Regions from separate parts of the Homo sapiens genome. Here region 2 is linked to region 1. The links are contacts of gene promoters, found by promoter capture Hi-C in blood cells and fetal thymus (Javierre and others, 2016). All regions are on one chromosome and are shown on one strand. The core of a region is centred on a gene start or on the middle of the fragment in contact, and the rest is flanking DNA. Distances in the headings are between cores, read along the strand shown.

What was found. Contacts are between HindIII fragments. The CHiCAGO score rates a contact against its expected background, and 5 or more counts as called.
Region 2: a fragment that was not itself captured here is called in contact with the fragment with the promoter of BTN2A2 in region 1 in 1 of 17 cell types (neutrophils); the score reaches 5.1 in neutrophils.

The regions. Positions count from the first base shown.
Region 1 is chr6:26,381,725-26,384,704 of GRCh38, forward strand. It overlaps BTN2A2 (butyrophilin subfamily 2 member A2), which reads left to right and starts at 1,384. Exons shown (of 8, transcript NM_006995.5): 1 at 1,384-1,457; 2 at 2,068-2,191. The coding sequence starts at 2,098. RefSeq lists a silencer at 1,233-1,322. The HindIII fragment of the contact is 7,335 bases long and covers 1-2,980 here.
Region 2 is chr6:27,881,961-27,884,940 of GRCh38, forward strand. No RefSeq gene overlaps it. Among named protein-coding and RNA genes, the nearest start is that of H3C12, 7.4 kb to the right of the region's middle. The HindIII fragment of the contact is 3,554 bases long and covers 1-2,980 here.

The DNA.
Region 1 (2,980 bases), core at 134-2,633:
TGGAGTGCAGTGGCATGATCTCAGCTCACCCTAACCTCCACCTCCCAGGTTCAAGCCATTCTCCTGCCTCAGCCTCCTGAGTAGCTGGGATTACAGGCATGTGCCACCACACCCAGCTAATTTTTTTTTTTTTTTTTTTTTTGGTAGAGACGGGGTTTCATCATGTTGGCCATGCTGGTCTTGAACTCCTGACTTCAAGTGATCTGCCTGCCTCCTCCTCCCAAAGTGTTGGGATTACAGGTGTGAGCCACTGCACCAGTTCCAGACTAAGTATTTAGACATTTGAGGGGATTATTGACAACTGGGCCTTGGGAAGATTATTCTGGAAGATATCTATACAATGACAAGATTGGATTCTGTGGGGGAGGGATTATGTTCATGGGGAGGAGGTTATGTGTGCTGGTGTGTGTGTGTGGTCCTTGGACTTAACCCCACCACCTACTGGCAGAAGGTCAAGGTCAACTGAAAGTCTTTGCTCACTTCCATCTTCTGCCTCCACCAGAATACCACCTCCCCGTGGGAAAGGGTTTTTAATCCTCACTCAGTATTCTCAGCACGTCTTATCCAATAGCTTTGGAGTGAACAACAAGACCTTCATAACAGCCACTGCAACTGCTGTCACCTTTCCTTTGCTACCCCTCCCACTCCAGCCATGCCTGCTTCCCCCAAGGCCTCCCGCGCACCAGGCCCAACCTTCAAAGCCAGCAACATGAACAAGAGTCCTCTGGCTTTGGAAAGACGGCGGCTTATGTTTTCCTCCTCATGTTTCCTCCCCAGCAAAATCACTCTACATAGAGAGCCCTCTCCTCGTCTACACCAGCAAAGCCACTGACACCTTGGGGATCTCAAGGCTTTGTAAAAGAACGGAAGGAAAGAAAGAAAGAGAGAGAGAGAGAAGGAAAGAAAGAAAGAAAGAAAGAAAGAAAGAAAGAAAGAAAGAAAGAAAGAAAGAAAGAAAGAAAGAGAAAGAAAGAAAGGAAGGAGAAGAGAAGGAAGAGAAAGAGAGAAAGGAAGAGAGAGGAAGGAAGGAAGGAAGAAAAAAGAAAGAAAGCGAGAAAGAAAGAAAGAATAAAGTGAGAGAGAGACATATGAAAGAAAGAAAGAAAGAAAAAGAGAATGAGAAAGGAAAGAAGGAAGCAAGGAAGGAAGGAAGAAAGGAAGGAAGAAAGGAAAATAAAGGAAAAAAGTCTTGCTTCCAAAGACAGAAAAAGGAAATAGAAATACCTAATAATCCCAAAAGGTTATTTGCTGCTTGAGATTTTTGGGGGGTTTTTGTGTGTGTATTCTACCTAGTAACAGCTGAGAAATAAGGCTCGAGACACCATTGGTTGGTTCAGCCTCACTCGGCCAATCCTGGGCTCTAAACTGCTCAGTGGAAATCTTGGGACTTTTTGGACACCCAGAGAACAGGTCCCAGATACCGAGTCCGCAACTCCAAACATCGCGATTAATAGGAGGTGAACACAGCTTTTCTCTTCTCTTTGGGATGCTTTGTTGTCTGGTGGTGACTGTGCCCATGGGTGAGTTGTATCGGAAAATCGTCATGTGAGGATCAGAGGGGAAAAGAAAACAGAGGTTAGTTCTAGAAGGTAGGAAAGGGAGAGGAGGCGCTACAGCTCCGGGGTGGGGGCGGTAGCTGGGGGCGGTAGGTGCGGGGAGCGGGATCTGCTCTGGAGAGGAGAGGGGGACCTGGGAGACAGGAAGCCTACTGGTGGGGAGGCGCAGCCTCGCCTGGCTTTACCTCGAGTGTCCCGACCTGGGTCTCGGGGAGGGGGAAGTGGAGGGACGAGGGTGTGAAAGAATCCAGGGACAACTGAAGAAACCGGACTGTGGCCCGAGAAGTGGGAAGAGGAAGGAGGAAAACGGCCCCCTTGATCTCTGCATTGATGGCTTACTTATGGAATGTTTACGGAATCCCTCTTTCGGAGATACCTGAGCCTTGAGATGCAAGCGACTCCCAGAAGTTGGGGCACCGATGAGACCTACTTGAGTGACAGGAGAGGTTGGGCCCGACCAGCACTGAGGTGCCAAGACTCCTAGGCTGATTCTCCTCCTCTGTAACCCTAGGCCTCTGGTCTCTGCCTGCCCTGGGTGCTCATGGAACCAGCTGCTGCTCTGCACTTCTCCCTGCCAGCCTCCCTCCTCCTCCTCCTGCTCCTCCTCCTTCTCAGCCTGTGTGCACTGGTCTCAGGTAGGGATGTGTGTCACTTGCTGCTGTCACCTCTCAGAAAGGAACATCAACCCTGTAGTCTGCAAAGGGAAAGAAGGAAGAACTGTGGGGTTGTTGACTTATCCTTTCATTCTGAACATGTTCACTGAATTTATACCAGCACTGTCCAAAAGAAACACAGTGAAGCACAAAGGTCAAGTGCATATACAAGTGCAAATCTTCAAAAAGATTTTTTTAACTTTTTATTTATTTGTTTATTTATTTAAGAGAGAGTATATTGCTCTGTTGCCAGGCCGGAATGAAGCAGATGGAGAATGAGATCATAACTCACTGTAACCTGAAACTCCTGGGCTCAAGGGATCCTCCCATCTCAGCCTCCCAAGTAGCTGAGAGTACAAGCAAGGGCCACCACACTCGACTAAGTTTTATTTTTTGTAGAGACAGGGTCTCACTATTTTGCCCAGGCTGGTCTCAAACTCCTAGCTGTTAAGGATCCTCCCACTTTGGCCTCCCAAATATCTGCAATTACAGGCGCAAGACCCTGTGCCTATTCTACTTTTTATTTTAAAAGGTAAAAACATACTTGAAATAAATTTTAATAATGTATTTTGTTTCATATAAATAATCACATATCAATATTTAAATGCTTAGTTAATAGAACTATTACCAATGAGATATTTGACATTTTGAAATTTTAAATCTTTATAATCTGTGTGTGTTTTACACTTAGAGTTCATTTTTATTGGAACTGTTAAATAGCTAGTGGATAGATACCCTAATGGACAGTTCAAGTTTACACTACACTCAGGC
Region 2 (2,980 bases), core at 234-2,733, 1.5 Mb after region 1:
ATTATTATTATTATTATTATTATTATTATTTGAGACAGATTTTGCTCTTGTTGCCTAGGCTCCAGTGCAATGGTGGATCTCAAGGGATTCTCCTGCTTCAGCCTCCGGAGTAGCTGGGATTACAGGTATGCGCCACCGTGCCTGGCTAATTTTGTATTTTCAGTAGAGACGTGGTTTCTCCGTGTTGGTCAGGCTGGACTCCTACTCCCGACCTCAGGTGATCCACCTGCCTCAGCCTCCCAACGTGCGGGGATCTCAGGCGTGAGCCACCGAGACCGCCCTCCGCCCTCTTGCCTGACGTTTACTATGCCATATGTTCCATATTCTTTGAGTGCTTATGGCTTTGGTTTTTTGGAGACGGAGTCTCGCTCTGTTACGCAGGCTAGAGTGCAGTGGCGCGATGTCTGCTCACTGCAACCTCCGCCTCCCAGGTTCAAGCAATTCTGCCTCAGCCTCCCGAGTAGCTGGGACTACAGTCGCAGGCCGCCACACTCTGCTAATTTTTTGTATTTTTAGTAGAGACGGGGTTTCACCGTTTTGCCCAGGCTGGTCTCGAACTCCTGAGCTCAGTCAACCCACCCAAAGTGCTAGAATTACAGGCGCGAGCCACCGCGTCTGGCCGAGTGCTTATGGTTTTAAAACTGACTTGCAAAACTCTTTATCAGGAAACCTCTTAGTTTCTCCTGAAAGTCTTTCAACCTATCATTGAAAGGGTCAGAATTTAGTTGTAAAGAATTTATTTGGCTGGGCGTGGTGGCTCACACCTGTAATCCCATCACATTGGAAGGCAAAGGCGGGAATGTCAGAGGCGTGTGAACCAGAACAACACCATCTTAAATAGGAGCTGGTAAAATAAGGCTGAAACCTCCTGGGCTGCATTCCTAGACGGTTAAAGCATTTTAAGTCACAGCATGAGATAGGAAGTCAGCACAAAATACAGGCCATAAAGACCTTGCTAATAAAGCAGATTGCAGTAAAGGAGCCAGCCAAAACCAAAATGGTGATGAGAGTGACCTCTGGTCGTCCTCACTGCTGCACTCCCACTAGGGTCATGACAATTTACAAATGCCATGGTAACGTCAGAAAGTTACCCTATATGGTCTAAAGAGGGGAGGCATGAATAATCCACCTCTTGTTTAGCATATCATCAAGAAATAACCATAAAAATGGGCAAGCAGCAGCCCTCAGGGCTGCTCTATGGAGTAGCCATTCTTTTATTCCTTTACTTTCTTAATAAACTTGCTTTCACTTTGCACTGTGGACTTGTCCTGAATTTTTTCTTGCAAGAGATCCAAGAACCCTCTCTTGGGGTCTGTATTGGGAAGCCTTTCTTTAACAGGAGGATCGCTTGAGCCCAGGAGTTCAGACCAGCCTACCAGCCTGGGCAACATAGCAAGACCCCTGTCTCTATTAAGAAGAATTTTTTTTTTAAGTTTATTCAAAGGAAAGCTGGAAATAGCCATTTGGAAAACAGACTCCAGGATCAATGGAATCAATCAGAGCTCCAAAGATAAAACTAAAGATCTTGCTTATATAGATAGAAAACAAAGACATTTAATAGAATTTTAAGTTTCTGTACAAAGGTGGCTTACGAGGTACAATTTGATTAGTTACAGCTTGTTTTTATTTTCTTTCACATTTAAAAGAGTATATTTAAAATTCCATCTTATACAATATGATAGTGACGAAGTCTTTGTGTAAGAGAGAAAACAGGGAAGTTCATCTATAATAAGAATCAATAGTGAAGAGATAAGGGGTCTTCCCTGGTGTCCTGTAGTCATTTACAACGTTTTACCACAAAAGGCAGATTTATAAGAGAAAAGCCTTACAAATGTGTTAACATGCACATGGGAAACAACTACAGAGTATTTACCCACTTCCCAACAGTGTACAAAGGTTTACAAACATTCTTCTTGTTTTTTTTTTTTTAGATGGAGTCTCGCTTTGTTGCCCAGGCTGGAGTGCAGTGGCGCGATCTTGGCTCACTGCAAGCTCCACCTCCCAGGTTCACGCCATTCTCCTGCCTCAGCCTCCGGAATAGCTGGGACTACAGGCACCCGCCACCACGCCCAGCTAATTTTTTGTAATTTTTAGTAGAGACAGGGTTTCACCGTGTTAACCAGGATGGTCTCGATCTCCTGACCTCGTGATCCACCCGCCTCGGTCTCCCAAAGTGCTGGGATTACAGGCGTGAGCCACCGCACCCAGCCTACAAACATTCTTTTTTTTTTTTTTTTTTTTTTTTTTTGAGACACAGTCTCGCTCTGTCACCCAGGCTGGAGTGCAGTGGCGCGATCTCGGCTCACTGCAAACTCCACCTCCCGGGTTGACGCCATTCTCCTGCCTCAGCCTCCCGAGTAGCTGGGACTATAGGCGCCTGCCACCACGCCAGGCTAATTTTTTGTATTTTTAGTAGAGACGAGGTTTCACCGTATTAGCCAGGATGGTCTCGATCTCCTGACCTCGTGATCCACCCGCCTCGGCCTCCCAAAGTGCTGGGATTACAGGCGTGAGCCACCGCGCCCAGCCACAAACATTCTTAAGCTAGAAAAAGGTTACAGAAAGAATGAGGGCTTGGGTCATAGCTAAACAAGTTACCGGCGGGTTGTGAGAAGAGGGATTCTGTTGAGGAGCAATAAATGATTACTAGGTAGAATGAGTGGACTGGGGAAAAGAGATTAACTTGTAAATAGTTCTCTTTGGAATTTGAATGCTCCTGGGAGACAACATTATCTTGTGAAAGGGTCTGTTCAGGTATGGTTACTTTTTTTTTTTTTTTTTTTTTTGAGTCGGAGTTTCACTCTTGTCACCCAGGCTGGAGTGCAATGGCGCAATCTCGGCTCACCACAACCTCTGCCTCCCGGGTTCAAGCGATTTTCCTTCCTCAGCCTCATGAGTAGCTGAGATTACAGGCATGCGCCACCACGCCCAGCTAATTTTTTGTATTTTTAGTAGGGACGGGGTTTCTCCATGTTGGTCA